2 separate regions of the Homo sapiens genome follow, and region 2 is linked to region 1. The links are contacts of gene promoters, found by promoter capture Hi-C in human tissues and cell types (Jung and others, 2019). All regions are on one chromosome and are shown on one strand. The core of a region is centred on a gene start or on the middle of the fragment in contact, and the rest is flanking DNA. Distances in the headings are between cores, read along the strand shown. Region 1 holds the start of SLC39A6 (solute carrier family 39 member 6). Region 2 has its middle 34 kb from the start of MAPRE2.

Region 1 (6,256 bases), core at 1-2,500:
TCCCCTATGACCTTTCCCCCAAACTGACACTTTCTCTAAAATGTCCATTCCCGTAGCTAAAACACAGGTAACATTTCCTTGAAATTCAATACAACAAAAGTTCATTAACCAAAACTGAAGGAAATACTGAAATGAGATTGCACCTGTGGGATGATGGTTTTAATCTACATATAAATTTCAATTGTTTTAAAACCCAAATTGATTAACGGTACTACAGTTCCCAAGGAAGGCTTCAGGTAAGATGCTTATCATTCGGGTTTCTGCGTGGGACTAACAGGTTACTAGCAGCTCATGGGCAGCAATGACCCTAGGATGACGCCACGCGTGAGACGGCAAAGGGTGAGGGGTGAGGAGCGAGTCCGGCAGGTCCACTGGAGACTCCGAGCCCAAACCCCGCTCCCCTGAGCCGACCCGACTCGCCTCCTAGGTCTGGGGCGGCAACTAACAGCGCGCCCGGAGCACGTCCACAGGTTCAACCCGAAAAGCACAAGGGTCGGCCGTCCAGCGACCTCTCTTACCAGGGGGTCATAGAGCACCACGGAGCAGGACGTGCCAAAGGCCAGAAGTCCTCTGGGCCCAGAGCTCCAGTTCAGGACTCCCCGCACCCGGTTTGGGCAGCAAAACACGTGAGAAGTCTCCAGCACGGGTGCCACCATGTCGCCAACTGGTCAGCCGCACAAACAAGAGACGCGCACTTCCGCCCTCGGAGCGGAACTACTAGGGTGGTTTCTCCTGAGGCATCACCCAGTCCACGTTTCGCAGCCAGCCGAGGGCCAGACGGAGGCAGCCCCGCCCCCCTGAGACTCTCCGTTCCCACCGCAGGCTGGAACCCCTGTGCAAGGCCGCCGCTTTGCTAGCTCTGCTCTTGGACCGTGGCCCCGCTCCGCGAACGAGCCAGGCCTTTGTCTCAAGAGCGAAATCCGACCCGAGTGGCTCGGGACCCTCCCGAAGGACCCGGGGCTCATGTGCCTGGGGCAGCGTCAGAAACATCTCGCTGCCCCTTACGACCCGGCTCCCAGCAGCAGCCAGGGCTGGCCCCGGGGGCGCTGGCTAGCGAGTAGGGCCTCGAGGAAATGACCCCCAACTGCTTACAATGCGCTAGGGCCGCGCCACGCCCCCGCGGCGTCGGCGAACACACGGAAAAGCGGATCCGTCTGCGGAGCCGGGTTCCGGGGTCGCACTGCGCATGCCCTGCAGTCCTGGGCGAAGGGGGCGGTGGTTCCCCGCGGCGCTGCGCGCGGCGGTAATTAGTGATTGTCTTCCAGCTTCGCGAAGGCTAGGGGCGCGGCTGCCGGGTGGCTGCGCGGCGCTGCCCCCGGACCGAGGGGCAGCCAACCCAATGAAACCACCGCGTGTTCGCGCCTGGTAGAGATTTCTCGAAGACACCAGTGGGCCCGTTCCGAGCCCTCTGGACCGCCCGTGTGGAACCAAACCTGCGCGCGTGGCCGGGCCGTGGGACAACGAGGCCGCGGAGACGTGAGTCTTTCAGGTCCGGGAGCAGGGCGGCTGGGAGGGGAGCTCCTCAGGCCAGACAGGCGTGGCGGGGTAGGGGTGGTTCTGCGGAGAACCGGATCCTGCGGACCGGGCAGGGGGGCTACAGAAAGAGGATGCTGGGGGGAGCCCGCCGCAGGCGCCCACTCACCCTAGAGAGCCGGACTTCTTAAGGTGCTCAGATGGGCTTCGGGGTGCAACGGAGGATTTTTTGAGGAAAAGATCCGTACTTTTCATCCCATATTCGAAGAAGGGACTGACGTGTTTAGAAATAAAAAGCTTTTAGAAGAGAGCTTTGTGCCCTCTTTTCCGTTTTCTGTACTCGCCTTTTTCTCTAAGGCCCTTCCCTTCTGCTTTCCTTTTTCCTCCAGCACACACCAACTTGCAGGAAAGGAGATCCTTCAACGGGTCCACGACCGCGCTCAGCATCCTCCCTGGAGAAAGGCTCGGAGCTGTCCCCTGTGCTAGTCCCCTCCCACCCCGCTCCTCGCCTCTCTCCTGGGAATGATTTCTAAATGTTTATCTTTTACCTAGTAAAAGAATTCCCGAAACTTCAAGCCCCAAAGATTCCTCTTTCAGGAGCCTCGTTCTACGCCGTACCTCCATTTCCCACTGTTCCCTGTATGATACCTCGCACTTGTGCAACACATGAGTTTAACGAGTACTTGTAATATACATTCCTTCATGTGTTTTCCTCCTTCGCCTTGCAAAATAGGTTTTACCGGTATTTTAGATAAGGTAATGAATGCGAGAGCCCTGTCCAAAGAACAGCTGACCGTGGTAGAGCTGGATAGCCCCATGCTCTTGCTTAGTTGTAAACTTGACGTCTGCGTCTTTTGCTGGAGATGTGAGTTTGACCACCATCACCTCCACCGTTGGTGCTGGACATCCTGCTGGATCTGAATTAACTGAATTCTGGCTCTGCTTAACTGAATTCTGCTTTTCAAGCTCCAACTCAATTGCTTCCTCCTCTTTGGGGCACAGGCCTTTGGTTCCAAACACTACTGTGGATGATTAACAGCCTGTGATTAAATGTTGACTGGTTTGTAGTAACACAAGGATGCTACAGTGAGTTTTTCATGAAGTTCAGTTTACTTTAAGAATTCTATGTATGGACATAATGTGTCTGATTCATTGTCAAGTCGGAAAAAAGATTCAATGTGTATTTAAAGTATACACTTATTTGAGGCTGGGCGTAGTGGTCACGCCTGTAATCCCAGCACTTTGGGAATTGGAGGTGGAGGATCTCTTGAGGCCAGGAGTTCAAGACCAACCCGGACAACATAGTGAGACCTCGTCTCTAGAAAAAAAAAAAAAAAACTTTAAAAAAAAAATTAAGTATACATGTATTTGAGTATGCATAGAAAATATCCTGAGGGATACACTGGCAAAATTGAGCACCTTTGAGGATTGTGATTGGGGAAAGGGGTCTTAAATGGGCTTGTATGTAAGGAGAGTGTATTAGTTTAAAATTTTTTAAATATGTGAATTCTGAGATTATTATTTCTATTTTTTGGTGTTTGAAGGTTATTTTATGAAATGATGGTGATGATCAAGGTAGCTAGATTTCATTTCGTTCTTTTTTTTTTTTGAGACAGGGTTTCACAATGTTGCCCAGGCTGGTCACAAACTCCTGGCCTCAGGTGATCTGCCTGCCTCAGCCTCCCAAAGTGCTGGGATTATAGGCATGAGCCACCACACCCAGCCTAGATTTAATTATGAATCATTGGCCTCAATGATTCAAATAATCGTTCAAATAAATTCTCAACTTCAGTAAGCAGTTGATGGCTGTGGCCACATGGATCTCCCTTGTCTCTGAATTACTATTGCTTTTACAGTGCTAATGGCAGTCTCTTAGCACTCAGCTCTTCTCCAGTTGTTTCATGTGTTTTAGGAATGCAAGGGTAGAGCCTAGGACTCTAGTTCTTTCCATCTTCACAGTACCTAGCGTCACACTGGTCACACCACATGATGCTCTGGCAACTTTGATTATTTGATTACACATTAATTTTCAGTATGAGGTTTCTTAATTCAATTTGTTTTAGAAGTGAGTCAAGAATTTTTTTTTCCTGTCTTTTCTAGGAAGGCGCAATGGCGAGGAAGTTATCTGTAATCTTGATCCTGACCTTTGCCCTCTCTGTCACAAATCCCCTTCATGAACTAAAAGCAGCTGCTTTCCCCCAGACCACTGAGAAAATTAGTCCGAATTGGGAATCTGGCATTAATGTTGACTTGGCAATTTCCACACGGCAATATCATCTACAACAGCTTTTCTACCGCTATGGAGAAAATAATTCTTTGTCAGTTGAAGGGTTCAGAAAATTACTTCAAAATATAGGCATAGATAAGATTAAAAGAATCCATATACACCATGACCACGACCATCACTCAGACCACGAGCATCACTCAGACCATGAGCGTCACTCAGACCATGAGCATCACTCAGAGCACGAGCATCACTCTGACCATGATCATCACTCTCACCATAATCATGCTGCTTCTGGTAAAAATAAGCGAAAAGCTCTTTGCCCAGACCATGACTCAGATAGTTCAGGTAAAGATCCTAGAAACAGCCAGGGGAAAGGAGCTCACCGACCAGAACATGCCAGTGGTAGAAGGAATGTCAAGGACAGTGTTAGTGCTAGTGAAGTGACCTCAACTGTGTACAACACTGTCTCTGAAGGAACTCACTTTCTAGAGACAATAGAGACTCCAAGACCTGGAAAACTCTTCCCCAAAGATGTAAGCAGCTCCACTCCACCCAGTGTCACATCAAAGAGCCGGGTGAGCCGGCTGGCTGGTAGGAAAACAAATGAATCTGTGAGTGAGCCCCGAAAAGGCTTTATGTATTCCAGAAACACAAATGAAAATCCTCAGGAGGTAAGATGAGTGCTGTTCATTATTTTAATATACCTGTGTGTCTGTCCTGTCTCTGCTACTCTATCTCTAGTTATGAGGAGTTTAAAGTAAAAGTAAAATGTTGAAGTTATTGAAAAGGGAATTTCCACCTTCTCAGCAAGGCACTTGCCACAAAGCATGCCTGCTATGTTGTAAACATTCCCAATTCAGAACTTAGGGAACAGTTCTTTTGGTGAGCGTAGTGCTGCCTCCTACAATTTTTTCTAATACAGAATATAAAATATGTAGAGAAAGATATCAAGGCTATCTTTAGAGAAAGTCTATAAAGGTGAACATTATTAATAAAAAATAGAAAATGAGGGGTTGAAAGCAGGAGTTAGAATCCATATTGTAGGGAAAGGTGTGACTGAAGGGGCTGAAGACTACTGAGAATACCACTGCTGCCTCCTTGACAGAAGGTCCACCATGACTTGAGGAATGATTGAAATTGGAGCAGTTTCCATGAATGTCATGCTGGACAAGGGAAAAGTTGGGACAGTGAGGTTCTGAGTTCATGTGGTTTTTCTAGAGTAGACTTCCAGACTGTACGTAATTCACCTTGGCTGAGAGATGTCAAGAACAGGGAATTATGTCAAAAAAAAAAGGAACAAGGAATTAGTTGATACAGTTTAATAAGCAAAACTTTAGTACTTCATTCAAACCAGCATGTGACTGTACTAATTCTGGACTAATCCTAGTAGTGGCCATAGCCATAGCAGCCCTGGTGATAAAGTTTGCTCTGAGTTGTACCAACTGAGAATTGTGGTGGGAGTTGAAAATGTCTTTACAGAAGATGAGAAACTGGTACTAAAGCCAGTTTGGGGTTTTTTTGTTGTTTTTTTTTTTTTTTCTTTTTTGGCTGGGGGAGAGATTGCACAGAGGAGTATCTTCAAACTAAGTTTGTCATCTAATTAAATAGTTGAAAACATCTGCCTGCCGGTACAGGTTTGTTTTATTAACCAGCCTTGCCCTCCACAAGAATAATCTGCATAATTTAATATCCTCTCATTGCAGAGCATTACTTTGCCAGGTATGTAGACAGAACTGAGTTTTTGCAAGTAGAGTCATTACTAGAAGAGAGGCATGTCTTGGACTTGTTTAGGCCAAGTAGGATAGCGTTAGTACTGAAGCAACATATTTCTCAATCTCTGATGAGCCCCATTTTGAAATTAAAGCTCATTTCCTTAATACGTTTATACAGTGAGTTAACAGGCTTGTGAATCTCCATTTATCCTCATGCTTGTTCCACCTGAGGCTTTCTCCCTAGGTGACTCGTGATGTACTGCTTCTCTGATGAGGTAGAAGAGGTGGGATACCACTGTGGTGACATAGTATCGCCAGGTAGCTGGAGGCAAGTTCCAAAGTGCTCAAAACAGAAGTTGATTTTAATTTTCATTAACTCGAGAAAACGAAGTAGCATTAGTAAAAAAGGGTATTGTGTCATCAGACTACTCTAATGGGGATGGCTTTTGGTGATTTTCACTGCTTTGTTTCTTTCAGTGTTTCAATGCATCAAAGCTACTGACATCTCATGGCATGGGCATCCAGGTTCCGCTGAATGCAACAGAGTTCAACTATCTCTGTCCAGCCATCATCAACCAAATTGATGCTAGATCTTGTCTGATTCATACAAGTGAAAAGAAGGCTGAAATCCCTCCAAAGACCTATTCATTACAAATAGGTAAAATTGCCTTTTTTATGTAAAAACAATTTCAGTAGATTCATTTATATTGTGCTTTTCCTTAGATTTGCATCAGCCTATTTGTTTTCCAGTACAATTCTGAATATGTCATCTTAGTTGTTCTTTGCCTTGAATGTGAAGAAAGCAAGGAAGGGTGTTAGCCCTGCCCTTTAAAAAAAAATCCCA
Region 2 (6,256 bases), core at 2,654-5,153, 1.1 Mb after region 1:
AAATGTACCCTTATTCCATCATTTAATTCTCAGAAGTCTTATAAGGCAACTTGATGAATAAACAAAAGGAATCCCATGAAGAACCTGTAGCTCTAGGAGGGAAGGGGAAAGAAAATCAATATTTCAATATTTTCTGAGTGTCCATGATGCACCCAACAATTATGTTACCTCTAATTATTCTCACAACAAACAAGATGTATTACATCTCTACTTTGAAGATGAGAGTGGAGCTTAGTGAGGTCAAGCTATTTGTCCAGCTCACAAGCTGGTATGCAGTGGTACAATCACGGCTCACTGTAGCCTTGAACTCTTGGATTCAAGGGATCTGCCTGCTTCAGCCTCCTGAATAGCTGCAACTACAGACATGGGCCACCACACTGGCTAATTGTTTTTAATTTTTATTTATTTATTTTTTTTGTAGAGAGATGAGGTCTTGCTATATTGCCCAGGCTGGTCTTGAACCCCTGGCCTCAAGTGATCCTCCAGTGTCAGCCTCCAAAAGTGTTGGGATTACAGGCGTGACCTACCATGGTCTAAATTAAAATTTTAATTAAAAATTGTAAATTAAAAAATTGTTACTGTGGTGTGAGATGGGTAAAATTTATCTTATTGCTTTTATTATACAAGGGATGCTTAGGTTAATCTAGTCCTAATTCTTACTACCTCTATGGTTTAGATGAGGCAGGGCTAATTAAAGCAGTGACCATAGAACAAGAAGAATCAGAAGTGAAGGTTCTGGTGCTGTGGTAATGCCACTGTCTAACCCTAGAAAAGTCACTCAAACTCTCCTCACTCAAGAATGTTCATCTGTAAAATGAGATGTTGGATTAGATTATCAGTGAGGTTCCTTCCAGCTGTTTTAAAGACAAAACACAAATGAAACCCACAATTTTTAGTGATTTACTTCCATCATCATCTGGTGAGGGCCAAGTTGTAGGTCTCACCGATCCCAGGCCTATCCTCCGTGCATTCTCAGTAAATGTACTCATTTAGGGGACTGTCAATGCAGGCCAACTTTAATTGGAATGTTGGTCAGTACAAGTGCAATTACAAGAAACTTCAAGCTTCCAGAAGCAGATGTTCCCACAGATTCTGACACAATAACTGATGATGAAGGCTGTGCCTTACAAAAGAGAAGCCATGGAAAAGTTTCATTCCAGGGGAAACTCGCATTCATCCCTAACCTTGTGTATCTTCTGCCAGGCAAGCTAGCCTGCTTATCACCCTTATAATGATTTTTTAAAAAATATTCTTTACACTATTAGATAGTATGCTTTAAGAGCTCTGCCTTGGTCACCTCTATATCCCTAGCTTTTACCATAAAACTTGGCACAGAGTTGGTGATCAATACATGTTTATGGAATGAATAGCTAATCTCACCATCCCTGAGTATTCCACACCAACTCACCTTCATGGCTCAGCTCAGATGTCATCTCTACCTCCCCCTCCCCAAACTCCCATTATACTGTAACTGTATTTCTCCTATGGTGCATCTTATTTTCTTACTAAAGTCGTTTACATATATCTTAGTTCCCCAGTAAAGTCAAATGCTCTGAGATAGAAGCTATCTCTTGCTCACTATTGAAAAACTACAATACCTAGCTGATAGTAGGCACAAAATAAATGTAGAATGAGCACATCATTCATATATATATATGTACACACACACACGTGCATGCACACACACACACACCCCAAAACACTCAGCACAGTGCTTTACAGTTAGTAATCATTCAGTAAATACTATTGAATAAATTAAATGCTTTCTGAAAATGTTATGGTGAAACTAGTACCCTAAAACTATAAATGTTTGTAAATTATTCCAAATCTCTGGGAAAAATATAGTAAACTAGATTAAAAGTCATAAAAATGGTCTGTCCTTGACAGATAATCCCACTTCTGGGATTGTGACCTTAGAAAATAGATGAATAGACACAAACCAAACGAAACCAAACCAACAACAAGATCTGTATAAAAATTTAGCATAGCATTTTTTATAGTGAAAATGGGAAGATAGTAAGAATTAAAGCACATACTATGGCATGTTGATATAACATTATACTGCAATTCCAATAATAGTTCTGATGACCCATGAAAGTAAAAGATGCTGTGACTCACAGTAGGTAAAATACAAAGTTCACACTCATTATGATATGCACTGTGGAAAATTAGGAATGCCCGTGAGAAGACCAAATATGCAAAAATGGAAAAATAGTTATTTTAGGATGGTGTTGTTATGGGTGATTTTCTCCTCTAGGTTTTCTTTAAGTGTATTATGTTACTTTTCATTAATATAATAAAAAATTTGGTATAGTCGACATGAACTTTTCCTTAACGTGACTGATTATATTTCCCAAAGATAACTATTTAGTGAGGATCAAAGCATAAAATTAAATTGCCTACTAATGAGCTATTGCTTCAGTATTTAACACTAAGACTCAGGTGTCACCTGAGTCTTATACATCATGAGGTATAAAGTACAAGCATGTTGTGTGTGGTGCAGGAACAGATTTGGATGAGAAACAAGAAGTGACACCCAGTAAAGGAATCTCAGGAACCACTTAATAGCAGATAGGATTACTCATTCAAGGAAATGATCAATACAGCTTTCCCTAGGGGATTGGTTTCAGAACCTTCCTTCCCCCACAAGAATCCATTCATGCTCAAGTCCCCCAGTTGGCCCACTGAATCCAGCAATATGAAAAGCTGGCTGCCTTTGGCTTCATATACCGATGAATACTGTATTTTCAGTTTACTTTTGGTTGCGGATCTGGAATCCACGGATATGGAAGTTTGACTGCATTTATTGAAAAAAAAAAATCACTTATAAGTAAGCCCGTGCAGTTCAAACCCATGTTGTTCAAGGGTCAACTGTACTAGTTCCTGAAAGGGTTAAATAAAGGAGGGTGCAACCCAGAAGGGATATAGAGAGAAGGGAGAGGGACTAATGATGGTTCTCTCTTTGGTTCTCTGCCATCTCCTACCAACTTAACCCATCTCTGTTATCTATCATGGATGCGCAAATGATGGCCTGCAGGCCAAGTATAGTCCATTGCCTGTTTTTGTAAATAGCTTTACTGAACACAGCCAAGGCCATCTCTTTATGTGTTATCTTTGTCTGTTTTCACACTACAATGAGTTGAACAGTTTAGACTGAGACTTGTATGACCAGCAAGGCAAAAAATATTTACAATTTGGCTCTTTAAAAACACATTTGTCCCATACCCCCATATATAAGGAGATTTAGAAAGCAACACCCTATTTAGATAGTGGGCCACCTTTTCCTGTTACTTTTTCTTCACCAGCCTGGAAGATAGGATGATCATATAATTTATCATCCAAAATGAAACGTTTTGAGGGTGAAAGGCAGTGCTAACTAGACTATTTTCCAGGAACACAGACTTGAACCAGGATTGCCTCATACAGACCCGACATATGGACCACCTACTATAAGGGCTAGCAGTACAAGATCAGTTTTCAAAGGGCACTTATGATCCGCAGCTATAGACACAGAAAGCTTAGGTGGTTTCTCTTCCTGGTTCTTCCTATTTCTAATGCCCTCAGGTACCTTTCCACTGAGCCCTGTCCCAACTCTGTCCTAGAGCCTGCTCTGGCCCCTGAATATTCCAGCTGTTGGAACATCATGCAGGGTACCATATCTCCACTTTGTTTGCTTGTTTTAGATGGAGTCTTGCTCTGTCACCCAAGCTGGAGTGCAGTGGCACGATCTTGGCTCACTGCAACCTCTGCCTCCTGGGTTCAAGTGATTCTTGTGCCTCAGCCACCCGAGTAGCTGGTATTACAGGTATGCACCACAATGCCCAGCTAGTTTTTATATTTTTAGTAGAGACAGGGTTTTGCCATGTTGGCCAGAGTGGTCTTTAACTCCTAACCTCTGGTAATGTGCTCACCTCAGCCTACAAAAGTGCTCCATATTTCCACTTTCACTAGAGCAACAGGAGAAAACATCTATTCTTCCACACTAAATAAACTAATTGTTCCAAGTCAATACAGTGAATTTTATACCTGCAAATTTTAATATCAAGACAACTTCTTAAAATGCTATTAAGTGGAAGAATTTCAGTTTCTCTTCTCAAATATTTAAAAAGTGACCACCAGTCATAGCATTTATTACAATGAGGCCCCAAAACAAATATGGTATATTATTCATGATTTGAGCTTTTAATAGTCACCATTACTGTTTAGAGAATTACTATTCAAGAATGAGGTTTCTAATTTTATCATTCCAGAATTTTTTTTTGAAAGAAGAAAACACATACGTCCCCACACACTTTTTTTTTAAGTAAAAATGTTTGATGCTGTGGAGAAATAGGAGTAAAATAAAAGATGTTTAGAGTACCTTTGATGAAATATAGGATGTTACACCACACTTTGTGAGACTATTCTGTGTGAACAATAATAGCTTGTAGCTTGGGACCTCTCTGAATGGCTTTCCAAACATTGCCATCTGGTGGAATTTCAGTTAATTGTTCCTTTGTTCTAAGGGCTCCTGGAGGTGACTCTTGAAGACATTACTTACAGAGACTTAGAGTAATAGTTCGAAATAACTGAAGGTCAAAATGATTGCATCTCAAAGACAAATCCCAGACAGAAAAAAATGAGGCTTTCCAGGTTCGTCATCTCTGTCACAGACATGCTCGCACGCTCGCACGCTCTCACTCTGTCTCTCTTTCTGCCTCTCAAAGCCAACAGAGTGGCTTTCTTGATTCTTAACAATATCAAATAAAAATCATTTATTTATAAATAGCGATGTCATGAGTTCATTTTGACCATATCTTGATATTCTACCCTCCCCACCTATCATAAGATTTTTCAAAATTAAACTTTAATTAATTGGCTTGACCATTTTTGGAGGAATTACTAATAGCAATTAATTAGCCCTTCGTACACTTGGGAAATGGAATTTGATTTGAAAAATAGTGTTTTAAAAGAGCATATTTACTCAAATATCGGCTTTAATTGTGTACTGGAATTTTGAAAATAAATTTGTTACAATGACAATATTACTACTCACTTTAAATTAATTTTTAAGCAAGGAGTCATGCAACGTAATTTATATAAACCTTACCTTGAGCATCCAGGCTTTCTCCCTGGCTGTTGAAATGAACTGTTCCTCTGGGAAACAGGACACTGGGATAGTAAAAATGGAAGAAAAAAAGAGTGCAAGCATTTAATATGATGAAAATATGGAAGCAAAGAGTTATAATTTAGTTTAGTGGGTGTGGCCAGCAATGGAAAAAATTAAAGAAAAAATACACGCCAAATATCCAAAAGTCAATCAATCTTACCATATGAAAGTGATTAAGTCAGCCAGACAATAGAATTATACTCTCAATATATATTATTAGATCAATTCTTATATTGATTAATAGTTGATAAAAATTTAGTATAATGTCAGTCCTATGAAAATATTTTTTCTTTTGTTTTTCCCCTGCCCTGATAGTCTGATGTGACGGGAATCATGTCGGCGGATAACCCCAAGGAGCAGTGCCTCTAGTGGGGTATCAAATACCAACATCAATTAAAGTACTGAATTCCCCAAACTTAGGTTTAACCAGGTTTTATATTTAGTATCAACACAGGCTTTTTCTAGTCAAAAAGATTTTTAATTTCAACAGGATAAGCATTATAAACGACTTTAAAATGTACATACCAATAAGCAGTAATTTAGTAATTTACTTTCTTTTCTTTTTTTTTTTTTTTGGAGATGGAGTCTCGCTCTGTCGCCCAGGCTGGAGTGCAGTGGCGCGATCTCGGCTCACTGCAGGCTCTGCCTCCTGGGCTCACGCCATTCTCCTTCCTCAGCCTCCCGAGTAGCTGGGACTACAGGCGCCCGCCACCATGCCCGGCTAATTTTTCTGTATTTTTAGTAGAGACGGTGTTTCACCGTGTTAGCCAGGGTGGTCTCGATCTCCTGACCTCGCGATCCGCCTGCCTTGGCTTCCCAAAGTGCTGGGATTACAGGCGTAAGCCACCGTGCACAGCCAATTGACTTTCTTTATATGAATTACCTATTTATTTTCAAAATATGCTTTGACTAAATGAGGCAGTAAGACAGTAAACTGATGAGGGACAAATCCAATTCTGGAGGCTAAGAAATGGAGGAGTCTGAGTTTGCTTTGAGAATCAAGTGTTTGGGGGATGAACGGTTACGGAGGAGGTTGCTATGTTTCAACTGGATGCTGCTATGAATGACCTGACTTGCATATACATATGAGCCTTAACTCTCTTCCCC

Evidence for each region. The method cuts DNA at HindIII sites, captures the fragments that hold promoters and counts their contacts. A contact is called where the count stands out against the background at its distance.
Region 2: a contact is called between a fragment that was not itself captured here and the fragment with the promoter of SLC39A6 in region 1, in 1 of the 25 tissues and cell types used here (dorsolateral prefrontal cortex).

The regions. Positions count from the first base shown.
Region 1 is chr18:36,124,334-36,130,589 of GRCh38, reverse strand. It overlaps SLC39A6 (solute carrier family 39 member 6), which reads left to right and starts at 1,250. Exons shown (of 10, transcript NM_012319.4): 1 at 1,250-1,476; 2 at 3,574-4,371; 3 at 5,890-6,070. The coding sequence starts at 3,583. ELP2 (elongator acetyltransferase complex subunit 2) reads right to left here and starts at 691. Exons shown (of 22, transcript NM_018255.4): 1 at 519-691. The coding sequence starts at 656. RefSeq lists enhancers at 440-649, 441-946, 810-999, 1,030-1,324, 947-1,452. The HindIII fragment of the contact is 7,969 bases long and covers 1-4,489 here.
Region 2 is chr18:35,004,387-35,010,642 of GRCh38, reverse strand. It overlaps a transcript of MAPRE2 not described here. Among named protein-coding and RNA genes, the nearest start is that of MAPRE2, 34 kb to the left of the region's middle. The HindIII fragment of the contact is 3,223 bases long and covers 2,292-5,514 here.